Regions from separate parts of the Homo sapiens genome. Here regions 2 and 3 are each linked to region 1. The links are contacts of gene promoters, found by promoter capture Hi-C in blood cells and fetal thymus (Javierre and others, 2016). All regions are on one chromosome and are shown on one strand. Each heading gives the region's core, a stretch centred on a gene start or on the middle of the fragment in contact. The rest is flanking DNA. Distances are from core to core; before and after follow the strand shown. Region 1 holds the start of NCK1 (NCK adaptor protein 1). Region 2 has its middle 6.9 kb from the start of STAG1-DT. Region 3 holds the start of IL20RB-AS1 (IL20RB antisense RNA 1).

Region 1 (4,046 bases), core at 1,425-3,924:
GGAGGCCGAGGCACAAGAATCGATTGAACCCGGGAGGCAGAGGTTGCAGTGAGCCAAGATCGTGCCACTGCACTCCAGCCTGGGCAACAGAGACTCTGTCTCAAAAAAAAAAAAAAAAAAGAAAAGAAAAAAACCCAGAACCATGAAGTATCACTAAGTATCTCTTTTCTTTATTATTTTCCTTTTTAAATTTTTTTATATTTTCTTAATTTAGAGACAGGGTATCACTACATTGCTTAGGCTGATCTCAAACTCCTGGCCTCCAGCTATCCTCCCGCCTTGGCCTCCCAAGTGCTGGGATTACAGGCTTGAACTACCCCGCCTGGTCTCCCTCAGTATCTAACAAAACATTACACATAGGTTTTTTTTGTTTCTGTTTTTTTTTTGTGTGTGTGTGACGGAATCTTGCTCTGTTGCCAGGCTGGAGTGCAGTGGCGATCTTGGCTCACTGCAACCTCCGACTCCCGGGTTCATGCAATTCTCCTGCCTCAGACTCCCGAGTAGCTGGGATTACAGGTGCGTGCCACCACGCCCGGATAATTTTTGTATTTTCAGTAGAGACGCGGTTTCACCGTGTTGGCCAGGCTGGTCTCGATCTCCTGACCTCGTGATCCGCCTGCCTCGGCCTCCCAAAGTGCTGGGATTACAGGCGTGAGCCACCGAGCCCGGCCAACATTACACGTAGGTTTCAAATTTTATTTAGATGGACCTGAAAGCACTGCAGAAACCTGGACAAAGGATAATGCCTAGAAAAATAAATACACATTTTATTTATTTTTTTGAGACGGAGTCTCGCTCTGTCGCCCAGGCTGGAGTGCAGTGGCGCGATCTCGGCTCACTGCAAGCTCCGCCTCCCGGGTTCACGCCATTCTCCTGCCTCAGCCTCCCGAGTAGCTGGGACTATAGGCGCCCGCCACCACGCCCGGCTACTTTTTTGTATTTTTAGTAGAGACGGGGTTTCACCGTGTCTGCTAGGGTGGTTTCAATCTCCTGACCTCGTGATCCGCCCGCCTCAGCCTCCCAAAGTGCTGGGATTACAGGTTTGAGCTACCCCGCCTGGACTCCCTCAGTATCGAACAAAACATTACACGTAGGTTTCAAATTTTATTTAGATGGACCTGAAAGCACTGTCAAAACCTGGACAAAAGATAATGCCTAGAAAAATAAGTACACATTTTAAAATTTAATACATGAGCCAACAGCTGAGTAGATGTGAACACTCTGCAAACTATGTTTATGGATATTACAGCCAATTTCCACAGATCACAATTTTCCCAAAGAAGTCTCAGAGTTTGTGGTCAAGATGAAAAGAAAGCACCATTTATCAACCAGTGCATATTACTATCAAGTTGTGAATGGGATGCCTATTTAAGAATATCACAGACTCCACCCCCCACAAGAAAATTAAGTGTTTTAAAAAGAAAAGAACGAATATTATTGACAATTACCAAACAAAACTTTCTTCTTAGGTTATTTCTCCGTTTACTGTGTGACCTCGCCGAAGGCTGAGAGTCTAGGCACACTGGTTTCCAGGTGCTGAAGAAATCGTTATAGTTGGTTTGTCATACGTCTATCAAAGTAAAATTTTAAAAATGAGTACCTTTTGGCAACACCCGTTTTGGGAGGACATTGAGCTGCTTTGCTCCCTACCCAAAGAGGAGTTAGGAAATTCTCTTTAACCTAATTCTTTCCTAATTTCTAGGGCTTCTTACCTAATCTAACGTGCATAATTATTTTCAGGTGACTCCGGGTCCATCAGTTTGACACCGAGAGCGTTCCTACGGTTACGTCCTCACCCCTGAACAAAACCCAGCTTCCTGAGCTTCTAACGGCGAATTTAACTTGTATGTTAATACAGAAGAAAGGTTACAAAACCTATCGAAATGGTTTTTTGTTTTACCAAACATATTACAACTCAAGTCAAAAGTTCACAGCCCCAGCAACTCGCGTACGAATCTGAAGCAGGTCCAGACCATTAAAGTCACAGCCCCAGACTAGAAAACGGCCGGTGGGTGGGGGGAGGGGAGAGGGCGCGTCCCGAAGATGTCCACCCGCAGCACCGCGCAGGCTGACGCCTCCCCTCCTCTCGGGCTGGAGGTGAGAGCGCCCTTCCTCCTACCACGTCCCTACCTTCCCGGCCTCGGATTACGCCACAGCTGGCAAAAGGACTTTTTCATGAGAAAACAGACAAGTCAACCAGCGCGCCGCACACTCGACCTCCCAGGCTCGCACGGGCGGCCGCCCGGGCTCTCAGCCCGACACAGCGCTCCAGGGGCTGACAAGGAGGCCGCGGGGTCACGCTCCCTGGGGCAACGGCCCGAGGGTCTCGCGGAATCCCGGTGCAGAAGTCTGGACCCTCCGAGCAGCCTCCGCGCCCCCTCCGGCTCGGCTCCGAGCCTGCAGACGGCGCCCCCGGGGCTAACTCAGCGCGAGAAGAGGAAGCGACGCAGCGAGTAACAGGCTGTATGGACGGACAGCGGACTGAAGGGGGGTGTGTGTGTGTCTGCCTGCCAACAAGGCCGTCTCACCTTCCCGCTGCCGAGCCGGGCAGCTCCAGCTCACCTGAGGAGGGCTCCAGGACGCCACTGCGGCCGCCGTGATGGCCGTAACGGCACGAGGCCTGCGCTCCGCCGCCGCCGCGTAGCTCTTGGGAGAGAGGCGGGGCACGCGCGGTGGGCAGGCGGATCCGCGCGGGCAGGAAACCCACTCTGGACCCAATCTGATAGGTTCAGTCGCCCCCTTCCCCGGTCCCTGACGCGACAACGGTCTCTGCCGCACTGGGATTGGGCGGGCCCTCATGTCAATCAAGCGCCGTGCCTGATGTGGAGGGAGCGGAGGCTGCGCGGCGGAGAGTAGAGAGCTAGAGGGTGAGAAGCGCTGGGCCGGACCAGAACTGTCTTAGCTTTTCCCTCTGCGGCTGCTCTGGTTGGTTACTTTGAGCCTGCCTCCTCAGCGCCGCAGGAGAGACTTAACAGCAAAAATGACTGTGTCCTGAGTTCAGCCCCCACTGCTCTGGGAGCTTCCCCCTGGTTTCTGCACCTGAAGAATGTCATCCCAGCCGAAGGTTCTTAGGAGCGGGGAGCGACAAAGAAAAACAAAGAAAAGCAGACCTGAAAATTGGGACCTGGGAGAAATGTAAGACATGTGCTTAATTTGAGGCACAGACCAAAAGAAGCTGAGTCTGAGGGCCCTCTAAAAGTGTCCTCGTGCTTGGGCAGCTTACATTCTTGGCGGCAGTAGTGTTATGAAGAGGACCTTCGGAGCCAGGTCTGTCCATTCTTAGGGCTCCAGCCACTGGCTGAGGCATCAGTAAGTTGGTTCTTCCCCTCGCCGGTGCTGCAGGCCCCCTTCCCCGCCCCCGCGCCGTAACCTGCCTCTTTTTTTTTTTTTTTTGAAACGAGTTTCGCTCTGTCGCCAGGGTGGAGTGCAGTGGCACGATCTCGGCTCACTGCAACCTCCGCCTCCGGGTTCAAGCTATTCTCCTGCCTCAGCCTCCCGAGTAGCTGGGATTACAGGCATGTACCACCACGCCCAGCTAATGTTTTTGTATTTTTAGCAGTGACGGGGTTTCACCAGGATGGTCTCGATCTCTTGACCTCGTGATTCGCCAGCCTCGGCCTCCCAAAGTGCTGGGATTACAGGCGTGAGCCACCACGCCCAGCCGCCTCATCTCTTCTTAACCATCTTTGTGGCACAGTTTAGGATCGCTCCTCAGGGAAGCTTGCTCAGTTAGGTACCTTCCTTGGAGCACAGGTGTTTTCTCCATCCGAGCTATTGAAATGGTTTGCCTGTATGTCTACCTAGATTGTAAACTCCGTTGAATCAGTAACCATGTCTGTTCAGTTTCTCCCTAGGGCCTTGCAGTAGGGTAGATGGTCAGTAAATACTGTTTAAGGCATTAATACTTTTTATTTTAATCCTGGCCCTGGATATCAGCCTCAAAAGTTTGCAGTTTTCTGCATTTAACTTCAAAATTATTTACGTGATTGGTAATGCATGCATGTGGTTGGCCTGTGCTGTAATTTAGATGTTTGTTCCCCTAAACC
Region 2 (3,876 bases), core at 833-3,332, 100 kb after region 1:
TCCCATCTTAGCCTCCTGAGTACCTGCGACTACAGGTGTGTGCCACCATGCCCAGCTAATTTTTTGTATTTTATTTTTGGAGAACCAGGATTTCACCATGTTTTCCAGGCTGGTCTTGAACTCTCAGGCTCAAGTGATCTGCTACCTCGGCCTCCCAAAGTGCTAGGATTACAGGCGTGAGCCACTCTGCCCAGCCCGTTTGTGATCTAAATATGAAGCAAAGATATTTGGGCAATTGTTAATAAGGGAAGATAATCCATTTGATCCTGATGCTTTCTATATTTTCCTTTGAGTGGTTTTCTAGTGGTTTTCACGGTGGTTCAGTGGTTCTGTAAAAGAGAAGATGTAATCCTAGCACACTCCTTAGTCTGGAAGTTGGCTATTAACTGTGTCAACCTATGGACAAAACACAAAAGACTTCTTGTGTTTAAGGGAGGTGAGAAAAAGGTGTGAAGGAAGAATGGTGGTGTTAATAGTGGAGAGTTGTAATACTACCTAAAGTTGAAATGTTATCTAGTGTTTTATCTTGTATTATTCAGAGTTACAAAGAAGCGTGGTGGCTCATGCCTGTAATACCACCACTTTGGGAGGCTGAGGCAGGCAGACCACCTGAGGTCAGTTTGAGAGAAGCCTGACCAACATGGTGAAACCCCGTCTTCACTAAAAATATAAAAATTAGCTGGGCATGGTGGCCCACACCTGTAATCTCAGTTACTCAGGAGGCTGAGGCAGGAGAATTGCTTGAACCTGGGAGGAAGAAGTTGCAGTGAGCCAAGATCATGCCACTGTACTCCAGCCTGGGCAACAGAGGGAGACCGTGTCTCCAAAAAGGAAAAAAAAAAAAAAAGTTACAAAGAAAACCAACAAAAGACGCAAACTTAATGCAACTGTTAAATATTGGACCAGTGGGTATTAACATAATCTTTATCCTTTGTAGCAGGGAGTCATTAGATTTTATTTAAAGTTGAATGAGCATATTTAGAAATATTGAAGTAATTCCAAACAAACAAAAACATGTAAAAGATGTTGTCCTTGGGCAGTGGCCCTGGCGGTAGAGTTAGGATGAAGCTTGGTTGCTTTTCAACGTTATGTTTTTTTGTCCTGTTTGATATGTTACAATTTATTTTGTATCCTTTAATTTGTTGCCATTGTGCATTTCTTTTACAGAAAATAAAATTAGAGGCTGGTTTTTCTGCCTATATGGAAACAATGTTTTAGATAGCTATTCTATCAAGAATGATTCCCAGGCCGGGGTGCAGTGGCTCACGCCTCTAATCCCAACACTTTGGGAGGCCGACGCCAGCAGATCACCTGAGGTTAGGAGTTTGAGACCAGCCTGGCCAATATGGTGAAACCCTGTCTCTACTAAACATACAAAAATTAGCTGGGTGTGGTTGTGTGCACCTGTAATGCTAGCTACTTGGGAGGCTGAGACAGGATAATCGCTTGAACCCGGGAGGCGGAGGTTGCAGTGAGCCAAGATCATGCCACTGCACTCCAGTTTGGGTAACACAGCAAGATTCCGACTTTAAAAAAAAAAAAAAAAGGATGATTCCTCAAAGTAGTCCAGGCCTCATACAGGTCTTTTGAAATAAGCCATAAAGTGGAATCCCAAGGACATCAAGAAACTTGGACTAAGAAAACGGTTGTTCTACTGGCACTTGAGTCTCTAAATAATAATAACTCTTAGCTCCTACCCACACTAGTTCCAGCCCTCTGCCTGTGAGTTTTTTTTTTTTTTTTTTTTGAGATGGAGTCTCGCTCTGTCACCCAGCCCGGAGTGCAGTGGCATGATCTCGGCTCACTGCAAGCTCCGCCTCCCGGGTTCACACCATTCTCCTGCCTCAGCCTCCCAAGTATTTGGGACTACAGGAGCCTGCCACCACGCCCAGCTAATTTTTTGTATTTTTAGTGGAGACGGGGTTTCACCGTGTTAGCCAGGACGGTCTCGATCTCCTGACCTTGTGATCCGCACCGCCTTGGCCTCTCAAAGTTCTGGGTAAGGATTACAGGCGTGAGCCACCGCGCCTGGCCAAAATTTCTTTTTAAAAAAATATCTGAGCAATTCCGATCCTCTGCTTTTTGAGAATAGAGTTTTGCCTATAACCAGGTTACTGATTCTGAAAGGGAAGGTATTCTGGATCCCTCTTACCATCTTATTACCAAGAACGGGGCAGAATTTATTGATTTAGTTATACATCTGTCTGTCTGCCTATCTGAGAAAGGGTCTTGCTGTGTCACCCAGGCTGGAGTGCAGTGGCATGATCATGGCTCACTTAAGTGATCCTCCCATCTCAGTCTCACAAGTAGCTGGGACTACAGGTGTGCGCCATCCTGCCCAGCTAATTTTTTATTTTTTATACAGATGGGGTCTCCCTATGTTGCCCAGATTGGTCTTGAACTTCTGGCCTCAAAAGATCTGACTGCCTCAACCTCCTAAAGTGCTGTGATTACAGGTGTGAGTCACTGGGCCTGGCTGCTTGCTCAGTTGTAGAAAGAATAGTGTTTTTAGGCTGGGCGCGGTGGCTCACGCCTGTAATTCAAGCACTTTGGGAGGCCGAGGCAGGCGGATCACCTAAGGTCAGGAGTTTGAGACCAGCCTGGCCAACATGGTGAAGCCCTGTCTCTACTAAAAATACAAAAATTAGCCGGGCATGGTGGCAGTCACCTGTAATCTCAGCTATTCGGGAGGCTGAAGCAGGAGAACTGCTTGAACCCAGGAGGCGGAGGTTGCAGTTTGCTGAGATCGCGCCATTGCACTCCAGCATGGGCAATAGAGTGAGACTCTGTCTCCAAAAAGAAAAAAAATTAAAAAAAAAAAGGAAAAATAATGGTTTAAATCCAGTAGGGAGGACACCATGGCATATTACTGCCACCAATTGGCAGCACACCTTAATTGCAAGAGTAGAAAAGAAGGGAAAATTATTTCTGATAATTGCAAAGGTCTACCAACGTAAGAAAGAACAAATGCCTTGTGACCAAGTGAAAAATGCAAAGGAATACTTGATTTGGGGGAGATTAAGATGAGACAGTGGTCATGATCCCTGAAACACAGGGTTTGTGGAGGTGGTAAAAATGAAGGGTGAGGAAGCTTGATCAGAAGACCTCTCTTTGCTCTAGATATCGAGCAGTTGCACTTGGAACTCTGAAAAAGGGGAAGGAAAGGGAAGAATGACGAATCAAATTTTACTTTTCTTTTTTTTTTTGAGACGGAGTCTCACTCTGTCAGCCAGGCTGGAATGCAGTGGCGCAATCTTGGCTCACTGCAATCTCTGCCTCATGGGTTTAACCGATTCTCTTGCCACCTGCCTCAGCCCCTCGAGTAGCTGGGATTACAGGTGTGCGCCACCACGCCCGGCTAATTTTTGTGTTTTAGTAGAGATGGGGTTTCACCATGTTGGCCAGGCTGGTCTCAAACTCCTGGCCTCAAGTGATCTGCCCACCTTGCCCTCCCAAAGTGCTGGGATTACAGGCATGAGCCACCGCGCCCGGCCCAAATTTTACTTTAAAAATCCTTTCTGTGTAAGAAATATCACCATTATCCTCACGCAAAAAAAGTTGATTTAATGTGTCTTACTCTAACTGTAAGGCCAATAGAATAACTGAAATCTTTTGTGTGCTAAAATTATCCAGAGAGAAAAAGACATAAGTCTGGCCCAAATTTTAAAGAAACTGTGCAATCTACACAATCAGAAACTCATTCTTTGGGTTATAAAGCAAAGTTCTTCATGTTATTGGTTAATAAATGTTAATTAGAACTAATGCATTTTCAGAAACACAATTTGGTATATTTGCAAGGAAAACAAGAAAAGCAATCTAAAGCTCCCAGTAAAACAACACTATATAAAAATCTTTTAAACTATTGCAACCCCTGTT
Region 3 (4,055 bases), core at 324-2,823, 120 kb before region 1:
GTCAGACATCCACAAGATGACATCTTGTAGAAATCTCAGTCTCAAAGCCGGGGGTGTCTCCTATTCTTCAAGACCAGTTGTTTCCCCCTGGGTTATTTGCCTTAGCTGGTGTTCTCACCAATTCCATTTGACAGCTGAATACTATCATTATCTCTCCCTTTTCTGTCCCCACAAACTTGATTCCTAAGCTCTGTCCTTTCTAAATCAGCCATGTTTCTTGGATTCATCATCTCCTTCCCATCCCCTTCCAAACTCTTGGGATCAGTAGGAGTATTACAACCCCCTCCTCACTCTTCCCCTGTCCTGCAGGCTTGCCCTACTCTGGTTCACTTTCCACACAGCAGCCAGAGTGTTGCTTTGTAAGATAGACCTGGTCGGCCGGGCGCCATGGCTCATGCCTGTAATCCCAGCACTTTGGGAGGCCGAAGTGGGCAGATGACTTGAGGTCAGGAGTTCCAGACCAGCCTGGAAAACATAGTGAAACCCTGTCTCTACTAAAAATACAAAAATTAGCCAGGCATGGTGGTGCACGCCTGTAGTCCCAGCTACTCAGGAGGCTGAGGCAGGAGAATCACTTGAACCCAGGAGACAGAGGTTGCAGTGAGCTGAGATCACGCCACTGCACACCAACCTGGGTGACAGAGTGAGACTCCGTATCAAAAAAAAAAAGAGATAGACCTGGTCTAGATCCTCTCCTCTTTCATTGGCTACCCTCTACTGACTTGGTCAAGCTTCGTGTCAAAGCCCTTCACCACATGATCAACTGCTTCCCTACCCCCTGCCCATCAGCCCTTGCCTCTCCTGTTCCGCAAACACACATGTCCTTTTATACAATGACCAGTGCTTGTACTCAGCCACATTTGGCCACCTATCTGGATTCCTCTATTACTTCTTTCTCAATCCTTTTCCAGGTACTACTCCAAAAGAAAAGTTATTTATTTCCCACAGAAGTCATTACAGAAGGGCAATTTTCTGGTGGCTCTGTTAAGTGTATAAATCCTCTTGCACAACAAAGCTGCTTACGTGGGCAGTAAATATGCAGTTAATGAGGCCTCAAGTGGGAGGCACAATTTATGGAGGCACAATCAGAGTAGGGAGCAGCAGTCCTGGTGCCACCTCTTCACTTCCAGAGCAGCTTTCCTTCCAGGTTCCCAATGTCAGCATCCCCAACACCTGCACACCCTGACACAGACAGTCAGGAATGACTTGAGTAGTCAAAGGGCATGACAGAGAGCAGCATGTAGAAAGCAGTTGGCAATTTTTCAAATATACCAGTAAGGGTTGTTTGTGTTCACAATACTCTGGCTTTGCAGGACTATTCTGATGCTAAAAAGAGTCTAGAAAGTTTAGGTGAACATGGTTCCTAAAGGAGGGGCTGGTTGGGGTGGGAGTGTAAGGAGAGAAGTGCCTTACTTGAGTTTCTATTAAAGGGATGCTTCAGGATGCTCCAGGCTGAGGTCTGTGAGCCCAATGTGGCCCTGACACGAAGGTTGTATGGCACAGTGGCCGTGATGTCATCAGTGACATCACACTCAGGACCTTCAGTGAGTGAGCACCAGCTGCTGGGGATCCAGATGTGGCTCGTGTACAGGCTCTCGTACTCCCTGTCAAAGAGAGGAGGGCACAGAGTTACACCAGCCCCTCTGACACAGGCTCAGTTATGGTTGCAAGTAACTGACTTCGTTCACCTACTTTGTACAGGTAAGTAAAATAAGTACTTTCTCATTATCCTAGCTCCTCCACTCTCCTCCCTACCAACCATCCATCGTCCCTTACTCCTTTTATTGCCAGATAGGGAAAGCTAGGCATAAACATCAATGTGTCTGGATCTCTTTTATCTCTTCATCTCCAGGGTCATCACCCTAATCTCAGCCACTGTCATTCCTTGCCTTGCTGTGATCTCCCAGCTTGGACACCTGCCATTCTCAAAACCATTCACCACTCAGCAGATTGTGACGTTTCTCTCCTTAATGGCTTCCTACAGGACTTAGAATGGGATCCAAACTCTTGCCAGTGGTCTTACAAGATGCTTTGGCCTTCTCTCTCACTCTGCTCCGAAGCGTGATATTCTTGCCACATTGGTCATTTCTCCAAAATGCTGAGCACTTTTTGCCTTAGGACCTTTGACTAACTGTTCACTCCATCTCAAACGCTCTGCCCCTGCTGTTCGCATGGCTGGCTCCTCTTGTCCTTCAGATATGGCATAAATATCACCTCCTCAGAGAGGCCATCCCAGGCCATCTAATATAAAGGAGCCTCAGTGTCAACTCTCTATGGCATCAGCCTTTTAGCTTCCTCCTAGCACTGATTACTATCCAAAATTCCCTAGAGCAGTGCTTTCCAAAAATAAACTTTCTGTGATGATGCAAATATTCTAAATCGATGTTGTTCAATATGGTAACCACTGGCCACATGTGGCTATTGAACACCTAAAATGTGACTAGTGTGGCAGGAAACAGACATTTTAATTTAATTTAATTTAATTTAATTTAATTTAAATTTAAATAGCCAGCTGTGGCTGGTGGCTACCATACTAGAGAATGCTGGCCTAGTATATTTATCATCTGTATCCTCCTCTAGATGTAAGCTCTCAAAATCCAGAAACCTTGTCAACTGTATCCCTGAGCCTAGAAGAATGTCTACACATGTAGGTGTTCAGTCTGTATTCATTGTTAATGAAATATATGGAGCAATTTCTGTGTCCTTATCACTATTCAATAGCTGCAAGCACCTGAACACCTGGAGAAGACTAGAGCCTGCTCAGCCCCAGGGCCAGCTGACCTTTAGGATTATAGTTCGTTTTGGCTCTAGGTATAAGCTTATAGTCAGGAAAAGTGAGGACTCCTCCACCCTTAAAGGATCTGAGTCTCCAGTGATTTATCCATCTCAAGTCAGAGTCAAACCCATTGGACAGTTGATTCACTTTTTAAAATAACTCCACCAAAATGTGTTATGCACATTCATCTTCCCAGAGAGTTCACTGTCAAATCCACAGAACAATTTCCCTTGCTTCTTCAACTCTTTCAATGCCTATGCAGACAGAGGGGGTAGATCTTTGGGGATAATCTATCCCTGGACTCAAAAAGCCACCTTGGGCTCAGGAGGAAGGGCTATGCCTTCAGGAACCAACTTCTGCTTAAGGGAGAAGAACTATTAAAAGAAAAAACTCACCCCTGGTATTCGACAGAATAGTACACTGTTTCTCCAGGCGCGATCACTGGGCTCCACATCAAGAGATGCTTCATGTTGGTTGAGAGTACAGAGAGGTTCTGAGGGGCAGGCAGAATGGCCACTTCATCTAGGATCAAGGCAGATAGCCTGGCTGACAGGTGGGCTCATAGTGGGGGAATGCCATAGCTTCAAATTAGTGTCTAATGAAGGGCCTCACTGGCGGAGGTTGCAGTAAGCTGAGATTGCACCACTGCACTCCAGCCTAGACAACAGAATGAGACTCTGTCTCAAAAAAAAAAAAGCCTCACATGTTTATAAACCAGAAACAACTCTAATTTTATCATGCTTATGTTAACACTAAATTTTGGGTACCACCATTATAATTCTGACTTTGTTGATAAATGACATATCAATATTAATAATAATAATGACTAATATTTATCTAATACTTACCATGTTCTATCTAGACCATGTGCTGGATTGTTACATGACTGTCTTATTGAATTCTCATGACCATACTGGGAGGTAAAGACCATTAGTTTTTCCATTGTACAAATGAGAAAACTGAGTCACATTATTTATGACTCTTCTGTTAGACTGGCTAGGATCCAGTGACTCTGCCACTTACTATGTGGCTTTAAGCAAGTTGCATAAACGTGAGCCTCTTAATCATTCATGGAAAACCAATGCAGACTACTGCAACATTCTCATCACCTCCCTCTCCTGCTACTGCCATCCTCAGATGCCAAAGCAATCGTTTCATGTCCCTCAACAAGGCCAAATGGGTCATCAGTTGCCAGGTGGGAAGTACAGGCTCAGATCTGCTGTGGAGAGAGTCCATTCAAGTGGGACACCAAGCCAGCTCTGTGAGTCCACCCCGGAAA

What was found. The method cuts DNA at HindIII sites, captures the fragments that hold promoters and counts their contacts. A CHiCAGO score of 5 or more calls a contact.
Region 2: a fragment that was not itself captured here is called in contact with the fragment with the promoter of NCK1 in region 1 in 4 of 17 cell types (megakaryocytes, M1 macrophages, neutrophils and 1 more); the score reaches 7.1 in megakaryocytes.
Region 3: the fragment with the promoter of IL20RB-AS1 here is called in contact with the fragment with the promoter of NCK1 in region 1 in 17 of 17 cell types (fetal thymus, total CD4 T cells, naive CD8 T cells and 14 more); the score reaches 19.6 in fetal thymus.

What each region holds. Positions count from the first base shown.
Region 1 is chr3:136,860,836-136,864,881 of GRCh38, reverse strand. It overlaps NCK1 (NCK adaptor protein 1), which reads right to left and starts at 2,674. Exons shown (of 4, transcript NM_001291999.2): 1 at 2,529-2,674. It overlaps NCK1-DT (NCK1 divergent transcript), which reads left to right and starts at 2,819. Exons shown (of 3, transcript NR_110177.1): 1 at 2,819-3,135. RefSeq lists enhancers at 1,806-1,925, 1,936-2,015, 3,076-3,135, 3,696-3,745 and a silencer at 2,656-2,715. The HindIII fragment of the contact is 9,923 bases long and covers 1-3,722 here.
Region 2 is chr3:136,757,679-136,761,554 of GRCh38, reverse strand. No RefSeq gene overlaps it. Among named protein-coding and RNA genes, the nearest start is that of STAG1-DT, 6.9 kb to the right of the region's middle. The HindIII fragment of the contact is 2,023 bases long and covers 1,071-3,093 here.
Region 3 is chr3:136,979,709-136,983,763 of GRCh38, reverse strand. It overlaps IL20RB-AS1 (IL20RB antisense RNA 1), which reads left to right and starts at 1,573. Exons shown (of 4, transcript NR_183729.1): 1 at 1,573-1,701; 2 at 3,914-4,055. IL20RB (interleukin 20 receptor subunit beta) reads right to left here. Exons shown (of 7, transcript NM_144717.4): 2 at 3,172-3,298; 3 at 1,414-1,604. The HindIII fragment of the contact is 2,087 bases long and covers 734-2,820 here.